2 separate regions of the Homo sapiens genome follow, and region 1 is linked to region 2. The links are contacts of gene promoters, found by promoter capture Hi-C in human tissues and cell types (Jung and others, 2019). All regions are on one chromosome and are shown on one strand. Each heading gives the region's core, a stretch centred on a gene start or on the middle of the fragment in contact. The rest is flanking DNA. Distances are from core to core; before and after follow the strand shown. Region 1 overlaps R3HCC1L (R3H domain and coiled-coil containing 1 like). Region 2 holds the start of LOXL4 (lysyl oxidase like 4).

Region 1 (5,664 bases), core at 141-2,640, 99 kb after region 2:
GCCTGAGGCCAGGAGTTCAAGACCAGCCTGGGCAACTTAGCAAGACTCTGTCTCTAAAAAATTAAAACAAGATAAAAAATTAGCTGGGAACGGTAGCACATACCTGTAACCCTCACTACTTGGAAGGCTGAGAGGGAGGGAGACTGCTTGAGCCCATGAATTTGAGGGTGCAGTGAACTATGATTGTGACACTGTACTCCAGCCTGGGTGACAGAGCAAGACCCAGTCTCAAAACAAACCAACAAAAAGCTTATAGCTGAAAAGAGCCTTTGAAAATCATCTGGTTGAGGGATTTATCTAAGACTATTAGAGTGGTAGTAACTAAGACCAGAACCCAGATTGTCTATCAACTAAACTAGCAGTTTTACCACCATTATAGCAGTATTATCAGTTTTCCACCGAGTATATGCTCACAATATATGCTGAGCAAAGTTTAATCAGGAAGTTAATTGTGCTGAAGAAATAATCACATAATGCACATCAAATCCAAATATATTATCCACACTAATACTCATTACCATTAAGGATAAATGATCAGGGTGATTTTTCCATCCCATTCCCCCAAAAATGTGCCTCATACACTGGACAAGACTTCTACTGTGACTATTCTTGGCACAAGAAAAAAACTTCAAACAATTCCCAAAAAAAAGCACTCACTCCAAAAAAAAAAAAAAAAAAAGGTTGTGTTAGGTGAGTAATAAGGAATGACAATTCTTCGAGCTGTTAGTTTTACATATTCCCTAAGCTCATATAAAGGCTGATTTATTTGCATTAAGCAAATACATTTTAGAATAACTAGTTTTGTACACTCATTTGCAAAGCTATCTTAAACCAAGACAAAGATTCTTATCTTTCATTTTAAAAAGTCTTTTTATAGTTTCTACTTAGTTAAGAAAGAACTATTAAGCCATGCCCAAGAGAACAATGACATATTTTTCAAAATCTGCCGCGATGAACCATGTCTAATTGTGTTTTCTGTTTCATTACAGTTTAGGCCCTACAAGCAAAAGTGAAGTAGTGGTAGAGCAGTGATTTAGTAGTAGTAGAGGAAGAGAAAGAAGAATAATCAGCTACCATTTACAGAGTGCTTACTACATGACAGGGACTGTGGTAAACATTGTATATACATTATCTCATTTGGTTCCAACTATAGTACTAAGAGATAGCTATGATTATCCCAATTTTATATAGGAGAAATCTGAAGCTTAAATAACTAAAGATCACACAACTTCTAAGTGTTGGTTAGGATTTCAAAGTCCCTGCACTTAACTACTAGACTAGACTGCCTGATATTCAGCAGAATGGTCTCACAATGATGCATTAGTTTCATAAATATTCACAATTTGCTTAGAATCCATGTAACTGCAAAACAACCAAAAAGAGTTCAAAGACTGCTGCCGTAAAAGGAGAAAACCAAGTAAGATAAGAATGAAAGATCTTTAATGCTTTCATGGCATGCCTATTTCCAATAACCTTCCAGACTTAAAAAGGCTGACAATAATTCACTGTTGTCTCTGAAACTTCCTCATTCACCTTGCCTCACCCTCAAAAGCCATATGGTAAAGAACCTCACCAGGTGTCAGGAGAGGAACACCCTCTCTTCTATTCCGCATAAGAATAATCTCTATACTTCTTCCTACCAACTCCTCCAAGCATTTGAAAATGCTGCCCTTCTCTACTTTCCTTCTCCAGAGGCACATTTCAACATGGGACCACCAACCAGTGAAACTGGTAACACAGTTCTCACCCTGGCAGAAGCTCAAAGTAGAATGTAGAGTATACGTTCAAATCTTGGGTCTAAAACAGAAGAAACCTGTACATCAAATACCAACTGCAGATGGTATTTTCAGATGCAATCTTAAACAGAATATAATACAGTATTTTAATATTAGTCTGCCTCTGCCTTGGACATTTATATTTACTGCCTCTGCCTCTCTGCCTGCAGCTGGACAAAGAATACAGCTTGCACAACTGGAAGAAACATTTCATGAAAAAACTGAGTATCAAGACAACAAAAGATACAAGATACATGATTCCAGTAGGATCTTGGAGGTCCCAAAATATATAAATAAACTGGCATGAAAAGGTCTTTCTCACGACATAACACAATTCATGCCCCCAGCTTATTTTATACTACACTGGCTATAGTCGTCATGCATCAGCACCAACTGATTTCACGCTTTATAGGCTGGGAAACAGTCCGCAGCTTAGTCTTTTTCACACTCCACTGACAAGGTAACCACACAGCTCACCGACTTAACTGCTCCAAGTTTAATGTTAGCACCTATTATTGACCACCTCAAAAGGCAGTCAGATAAAAGCTTTAATATACCGAACAATGGCAATATAATATGTAATACAAAGGTAGAGAGAAAAGTTTGCTTCCTACTCTGCATATGTAACTGGCGGTAGGGGGCAGGGAGAGAAGAAAAAAACTCCCTCTTAAAACTTCTTTCCCTCAATACACATCTGGAGGTTGGTCTGCTTCTACAGTTATTTGAAATTAGTTCCTCTCCTGGGTCTATTCTGGGTTTAACTGACATCCTATAGTTGACAATAAAGGAGCTCAAATGGATAAAGCTTTGGGGGCTTTACCTCAACCTTGACATGCATTAAACTTGATTTCTTTTCCTCTTTAAGATTCACAGAGTAAAGCTAATAAACCACTGGGTAAATTTTGAAAGTAGAAGCCACCAGACTCAATCTCAGCTAAGTGTCATATATGTTATCTCATTTTATCCCAACTACAATACTAAGAGGTAGCTATTATTATCCCAACTTTACAGATGAAAAATCTGAAACTTAAGTTACTTAAGATTACACAGTTTCCAAGTGCTGGATAGGATTTCAAAGTCCGTGGATTGGATTTCAAAGTCCCTGCATCTAACTACTACTGTAAGACTAAAACACATATCTTCTAAAAATTATGTTGGGGTAAAAATGCATAGCCCAGAATGCTAGTCTGGCTACAGCCAAAGGTTCATTGTAGCAAAGCTATTTATTTTGTATGTATGTTTGTAAAAATGCATAGCACAGAACAGTTTAATTTTTAAAATACCAAATCACAGTAACAACAAAAATGAATACTTATAAATGAGGTAGAGTCTGTCTGTTAGAGAAATAGCTACAGCTCCGTATCTATCACCTCCCTCCTTGGAGCTATACCAGCAGGTGTGAAATGTGCCTGGTGAGAAACTGAGAAACCAAAAGCAAGTTTCAGGCAAAGAAAACATTAACAAGTTAATAAATTTAAGAGTTTCTCTTCTATGCAGTTTCAAAGTTTATTCATTAGAGTTCCAAGAATAACAAATAATTACAATACAGTAAAATCTTCAAAGCAACGTTACTTTAAGGAACAGAATGCCTGTACACAGGGCTACAGAAGGCTTTCAAGAAGAATCATGTCCTGAACGAACATGGCTCAGGTATTTAAACTGAATTCTTATCTAGTATTCTTATGATACAAAGAGAAAGATAATTGTTAAAGATGGGTAAAAGCTAACAATAGGCAATGGCATTTTTTTTTTACCATCAAATACTTATTAAGTGCACATATTGTATTGACATCACTGCTGGGGTAGTAGAAATTATAAAGTAGGGGTCAGGCGCGGTGGCTCACGCCTGTAATCCCAGCACTTTGGGAGGCTGAGGTGGGCAGATCAGGAGGTCAGGAGATCGAGACCATCCTGGCTAACACGGTGAAACCCCATTTCTACTAAAAATACAAAAAATTAGCCAGGCATGGTGGCACGCACCTGTAGTCCCAGCTACTCGGGAGGCTGAGGCAGGAGAATCGCTTGAACCTGGGAGGCAGAAGTTGCAGTAAGCCGAGAGAGTAAAAATGAAGCTTCCCCTTAAGATGTCTCTACCTAATTGGAAAGATTGTTTTAATGTTGTTTTAAGGGAATATATGTCTCTAACTACCAAATAAAGAGAAAAGCAGTAAATGATAGAAACCAGAGGAGAAAAATATCACTAAGGGCTTGGAATGGGTGAGGAAAATGTCATAAAGTGGGTGGAACTGAGGCTAGGCCTTTAGAAACAGATTTAGAAGTTCAGACACAGAACTGAGGGGAGATATTACAAGTGGAAAGAATAGACTCAACATGTGAAGACGCAAAAAGTCAGAGTGTTATTTTGGAGACTTACAGAAACTGGTTGTCTTAGTTCATGCTGCTATAACAAAGTACCACAGACTGGGTGGCTTAAAAACAACAAAAATTTCTCACAATTCTAATAGCTAGAAGTCCAAGATCAGGGTGCCAGCATGGCCTGGTTCCGGAGCAGGCCCTCTTCCAGGTTGCAGTAGGTTGATTTCCCATTGTATTCTCATACAGCAGAAACAGAGCAAGCTAGCTCCCTGGCTTCTTCTTGGTTTGTTTGTTTGATTTTTGAGACAGAGTTTTCACTCTTGCTGCCCAGACTGCAGTGCAATGGTACAGTCCTAGCTCACTGCAACCTCCACCTCCGGGTTCAAGTGATTCTCCTGCCTCAGCTTCCCAAGCAGCTGGGATTACAGGCATGTGCCACCAGGCCAGCTAATTTTTTGTATTTAGTAGAGATGGGGTTTCACCATGTTGGTCAGGCTGGTTTCGAACTCCTGACCTCAGGTGAGCCACCCGCCTTGGCCTCCCAAAGTGCTGGGATTACAGGCATGAGCCATCGCACCTGGTCCCTGGCTTCTTCCTATAGGGGAAGCCATGTCATTCATGAGGGCTCCACCTTCATGACTAAATTACATCCCAAAGGCCCCACCTCCAACACCATCACATTGGGGACCAGATTTCAACATATGAGTTTAGGGGGAACACAAACATTCAGTCCCCAATATTAGTCTGGCTACAGCCAAAGGTTCATTGTAGCAAAGCTATTTACTTTGTATAACTATTCTCATACTGAAAGAAAGAACTGAACCATAACTTGCCCACATTAAATTCCACTCCACAATCCAAATAATATCCAGAAATTCTTGTCTTTGATGTCTGACAATGCTTGCTATAAAAACAGTAACAGCGGATAGCATACGTATCAAATCAATCCAATAAATAAATAACAAGATGTACATTTGTCTGAGATAAAGGCCTAGCCATTGTGGATCTAAATATGGTAACTGGCCTTACTACTACTATAATAATTCCTGGAAAAGATAAGCCCTATCCCCATTACCCTTACCTTTATAGTTTCATTTCCTGGTATGATGTGGTATTTCTAGTCTCCTCAAAAGTTTTAATTCCATCCAACCCATACTTTCATCAATAGAACATAGAACCTTACAGGGTTTTTTGTTATTTGATTTTTTGAGACAGAGTCTCATTCTGTCGCCCAGGCTGGAAGTGCACTGGCGCAATCTCAGCTCACTGCAACATCCGCCTGCCTGGCTCAAGCAAGGAATAGCTTGTCTCAGCCTCCAGAATAGCTGGGATTACAGGCGTACACCACCATGCCCAGCTAATATTTTATATTTATAGTAGAGACAGGGTTTCCCTGTGTTGGCCAGGCTGGTCTCGAACTCCTGGCCTCAAGTGATCTGCCCACCTGGGCCTCCCAAAGTGCTGGGATTACGGGGGTGAGCTGCCATGCCCAGGCAACTTTACAGTTTTGATGACAGAATCAATAACACCTTGAAAGGAAAGGTGAAATACACTATTTCCACCCCACCTTCTA
Region 2 (5,173 bases), core at 2,044-4,543:
CGGAGGAGTTGGAATCGGAGTTAGGCCTGAAGGGTAGGTAGAATATGGAAAATGAAGTGAGTAGAGGCAACTGGAGATTCCTTCTCTCCTGTGGGCAGTAGTGAGCAATTAAAGATTCTTGAGCTAGAGCAAGACAACACTTTAGAAAGACTGACGTCAGGAACAGTGAGATGCAGGGAAAAACTGAGAGCAGTTTGGGGGCTGTTGCCACAGCACTGAGTGTTAGAGGAGGCAGGAATGCAACGGCAGGACAAATAGATGCAGGAGGCAGTACCTTAGGCACAGCAAAATAACTTACCCGAGGCCACACAATTCAGAAGCAGAGCTAGAACTCAGGTTGCCCAGTTTTAAAGCTGTACAGTTTCCTCCATACTGAGTCACAGAGGAGATGAGGCTAGAACTGAGTCCTGAAGGCTGCTGAGGAGGAAGTTTGCCAGCAGGCATGGGCACTGGGCACTCCACCAGGGTCACTACTGGGTTCAACCAGGTGCACCCTGGAGGCCACCGCTTTCTGCAGGAGATTCTGGCCTTCCCACTTGGGAGGAAAGTACAGACCCTGACTTAGGCAGGAAGGGAGGGTTGAGAAGCACCCCATGGGGAAGAGATTCATGTTAGCTCCTTTCCCTGGGAGGAGGCAGGGAGAGGTGATGCTTACACATCCAAGTCCCTGGGTACTGGCTGAGGGATCAGGGGAGCTGCGGTAACTCCAGACACCTGCATGGTGCTTCACGGCTTCCACAACATCGTAAAGTGTTATTCCTGACCACTCCACTTTCCCCCCTCTCTACCCAGTGTATCAGATCCACCTTCCAAGGCACTTCTGGGAAGGCTTCAACCCTCAGACTTCCCTGCCCAGCATCCACACAGCCCTGTGCTTTCGCCGTCATTGATCACTTGCTCCCATCTGCAGATAACAGCTGTGTGATGTTGGCCAAGTCACTTAACCCCTTTGTGTCCCAGTTTCATTGTGTAAACAGGAGATGATGAAAGCATTGTCCACCGGTTTTTCGACCCCAGCCAGCCATGATGATGATAATGGTGATGATGCCTTGTCCTGCTGGTTGATTGTGGCTCTGTCTCCCCCACCACTCTGCAAATTCCTTGAGGACAAGATAGGAAGCACCTCTGGCTTGTCTGTATCACCTTGGGGACCAGAAACTGGCACGCACCGCTAGGTCCATTTATTCAATCCGTGAGCACTTCTGGAGCACTTGCTATGTGTCAAGCTCTGTGACAGGATCTGGGTTTAGAGATAAATAAGAAGCTCGGGGGTGGGTGGGGGTGTCCAGAGTTAAGGCAGACACAGACCATTATATAAAGAGTATGGAGAGGGTCACAGGCGCTGGGCTGAGGCCGGGTGAACATAGCCAGGCAGGAGGGAAGAAGAGGGCTTTCTCAATCAAATGAAAGCTGATTGAGATGAATCCAGTGGTCCCATCTGACCCCTACAGCAATCACATTTAAGGATGAGGAGATGACAACTCAGCCGAGAAAATCCCACTGTTAGTACGCCATGGGCTGGGGCTGGGACCAGAGCCCCTCACTTCTCAGGGTTGGGGGCTCACAGCGCATGCCTTAGAGATCCCCACTTCCACTGCTTCCCAGCCTTGGCCTCTGCCCAGAGTTGTGCAAATTAAAGGACTTCCGGGCAACATCCATTCATTCCCTGGTCTCTATCCTCCGCCCGCCCCTGCGCTCCAGGGTATTTTTAGTTCTGGGCAGCCAGGCCTGGTGAGTGATTGGCAGCAGGCAGAGCCCACGTTTCCGAACCCTCTGTGTTGCTTCTGGCTCAGCATGAGAGGTGGCTGGGCCCTAGGAGAGGGCTTAGGCATACCTGGCACCCAAGCCCACAGCTGCCTCATTGTCCCTGGGGGAGGAGCTGGGCTGCTGCCACTGACCCGAGGCTGGGAGCATTCTTTCCTGCTGATTCATCATGGGGAATGTTTTGGGCCCAGCTGGGGTGGGGCAGGGGCACTGGGGGGACATCTTGGACACGGGCAGCCAGGAGTGGATGGCAGGTCCCTGGCAGCAGGGTCATTAAGACCTGGCTGTCACCCAGGATCGAAAAGGTCCATCTTGACATCCTAGCTCTATCACACTCTGCCTGTCCAGGCTTATTCTTACTTGCACATCTGCCTCCCCCACCAGACTGGGAAGGCCCCCTCCAGCGTCTAGCACTCCAGCACCCTGTCTAGCATGTAGGAGAAAATCAATAAAGGCTTGTGGGATGAATGAACCTTTGGAAGGACGTTTAGGCAAGGTGGGGGCAAGAGGGGGAACCAGGTTGGGCAGCTGTGGGCCTAGGGAGGAAACCGGGAGGCTGGAACCCTCTGCCCATTTTACAGATGGGGCCAGTGAGGCTAAGGGCAGGACCAGGTCTAGGGGAAAGAAACTGGGGGCTTGGACTGGGGTTCAGGCACCTAGGTGCTCAGTTCAGCTGATGGGACTCCTCTCTGTCAGCCATGTCCACATTTCTTTAATTCTACAGTCCCTGCTCCCTGCACTAACACCCTCCTCCCGTGAGTCTGACAAGGGCCAGGACTGCATCATTCAGCTCTGTGAAGGGGTTCTCCCATTCACTGTGTATTGCCTGGAGGAGCAAGTTATGTCGCCTGGGGCTCAGTGTTCCCAGCTGCACAATGGGCAGCGCAGAGTTTCACACGGAGGGCGGGGGGGGGGGGGGGGGCGGTATTCAGTAAACTCTGGGTGACTCGCCTGTTCCTGCAGGAGAGCACCGCTGCACCGCGCCACCTCGACCTCTCTGAACTGAGCCCCGGCCTCCCAGAAAGGGCGTCTACATTGTCCTAAGTGACCGAGCTCGTGAGATTCGGCCCCTGTGACAGCCGGGCGCTCCCGTGCGAAGGGTGCTGTGCCGGGGGCCCTGGCACCCACCAGGACTCACAGACTGGGACTCTAGGTGGGCGTCATTACCTTGTTCTGCAAAAGAGGAAACTGCCTGGGAGAGGGACTCCCGAGGCCGCCGCGGCCCTCCCTGCAAAACAGCCGCGGGCCCAGCGCCGCCCTTTCCCGAGAGCTCCGCTCCCCGCGACCCCCCGCCGCCCCCCCGCTCCCCCCGCCCCCCGGGACTTCCCGGCCCCGCCGGCTGCGGCTGGGCGCCCCCGCCACCTGGCCTGTGTCCCGACGGGGGGCGCCGCGCGGAAGGCCGGGCGGGGCGCCCGCGGACTCCAGGCCCGCCCGGGGCGGGGCCTGCGGGGCCTCCTCCGCGGCCAGCTCGGGGCTGGGGGGCCGCGGGCGGGAGGCGGATAAAAAGGCCCCAGGGCGCCCGGGGAGGGAGCCCGTTAGCGCTGCTCCGCCGCGGCGCCCGCCCAGCCCCGGACTGTCCGCGCTCCATCTGGTGAGCCCCCGCCTGGCCGCGCGTCTGCCTCTTGGTCTGCCTCTTGCTGTCCCATCTGTCCTTCTGTCTCTCTGTGAGTCTGCAGGCCTCTGAGGGTTCCTGGAGACTGGGCCTAGGGTGCATGGGGGATCCCTTGGACCCTCAGCCCGGCCCTCCAGTCGCTCACCAACCTGCTTCCAACTGGACAAGTGACCACGCTGGGGAGCTTGGCCCAAGGCCCGCCCTGAGTGGTGCGCCCAGGCCTCAGGGGTGCCTGCGTGTCTTGTTTGTGTACACGCCGTGTGTAACCATTGCTCTGCCTTCTTCCAGGGAGGAGACAGGGAAGGGGCAAGGCGGGTTCAGATGTCACACTTACGACTTGGGGGACAACGAACCAGGGCTGATCTGGGCTCTCCAACTATCCAGACCGGAGCTGATTATGTTGGGGGGTCGGCGTGTGACAGAAACACCGAAGGGAAGGGGGCAGAAGACTTCAAGCCCCCTCTTTCCTAGCCTGGACAGGTACAGCTCAGAGACCATTTGTTGGCACTGCTTCAGGTCCACAGAGTCAGTAACCCCGGGGAGGCTACAGGGCTGAGAGGAGGCTGCTGAGAAGAGCTGCCCAACGGCAGAGAAGGGATGAGCCATCCTAAAGTTGCTGCACCCTCAGGACAGCACCCCCCATGCTCTCTCTTGAATACTCGGGCATTTGCTGTCTTCAGCCCTCCCTACCTGCGCTAGGTCAGGCCAGGTCCCAGCATCTCCTGGCACACCTGGAGCAGGTGCCTCTGTGCCTCAAGCTGGCAAGATCTTGGATCTGTCACTCGGCATTCAGCGAAGAGCACCCTGCCCAGTGCCCTCACACCACGGCCTGGGTCATAAATCCACCAGAACAGGGTGGAATTTCAGTCGGCTCCCGGCCTTCCTTTCCTCCTCCCCCTCTTCCAACATCCATTCTTGGTGGTTTTGAGAGTCCGGCGTCTAGCCAGGCTGCTTGGGTTTGAATCCTGGCTGGGCAAGTTACTTGACTTCCCTGGACCTTACCTTCTCATCTGTAAAATGGAGATAAGTATTTAATCCGTATTTTAAAATGTATAGTTATTATCCTCACTTCCCTCCCCTCCTCTTTCCCTTCCACCTTCCTTCCCTCTTCTGTCCCCTTCTCCTTTATTTGGGAAAGTAACGGCCACTTTCGAGGCCGCTTCCTTCTCTGAGGGAGGATGCACAGCTTGGTCCTCTGTGCTCAGTGCTAGGGGAACAGACAGGTGGAGTCTGGTTGTGGGGTCAGGAAGCAAACACACAATGTGCTTTGTGGAAGGCTTTGTGGGAGGGCTTAATGGAGGGGGTGGCATTTGAGCTGGCCTTGTGGGATGTGTAGGAGTTTAACAGTCTTAGATAGAGGGAAAGGAACAGTGAGAGCAAAGGCTTGGAGGCTGGGAGACGAAGGCTATAGTCTGGTGTGAGCAAAAGCTCTCGGGGGCCTATAGTGGGCAGGAAGGCCAATAAGAGGGACTCTCCCTGCATCTAACTCTTGGTTCCCGCTGCCGTCCCCCCACCTTCCAGCAGCGTTCATGGAAGGGAGCTTCCCTGGCCCAGACCCCAGGGTCCTACAGCAGAAGCCCTCCCATGCCCTCAGGTTGGTCCCTTGGAGAGGAAGGAGCTGCTGGCCTGGGACTGTCCACAGCCTGTAACAAGACCTCCTCAGTGTGTCAGGGACTTCAGCCAGGAGCCAAACAGCAGACCTGCCCAGCCTACCCTGGGCCCCATCAGAGCATGTCGGATAGGGGGGCTGTCTAGTGCCACCCCCTCATTTTACAGGTTTTTCAGCTGAGACTCAGA

What was found. The method cuts DNA at HindIII sites, captures the fragments that hold promoters and counts their contacts. A contact is called where the count stands out against the background at its distance.
Region 1: a contact is called between a fragment that was not itself captured here and the fragment with the promoter of LOXL4 in region 2, in 2 of the 25 tissues and cell types used here (liver and mesenchymal stem cells).

Annotation. Positions count from the first base shown.
Region 1 is chr10:98,164,900-98,170,563 of GRCh38, reverse strand. The region is part of intron 4 of R3HCC1L (R3H domain and coiled-coil containing 1 like); the gene reads right to left. Among named protein-coding and RNA genes, the nearest start is that of R3HCC1L, 33 kb to the right of the region's middle. The HindIII fragment of the contact is 3,649 bases long and covers 1-3,214 here.
Region 2 is chr10:98,266,314-98,271,486 of GRCh38, reverse strand. LOXL4 (lysyl oxidase like 4) reads left to right here and starts at 3,293. Exons shown (of 15, transcript NM_032211.7): 1 at 3,293-3,355. It overlaps LOC124902489 (a long non-coding RNA gene), which reads right to left and starts at 3,045. Exons shown (of 2, transcript XR_007062260.1): 1 at 299-3,045. RefSeq lists enhancers at 3,346-3,845, 3,846-4,347. The HindIII fragment of the contact is 18,964 bases long and covers 1-5,173 here.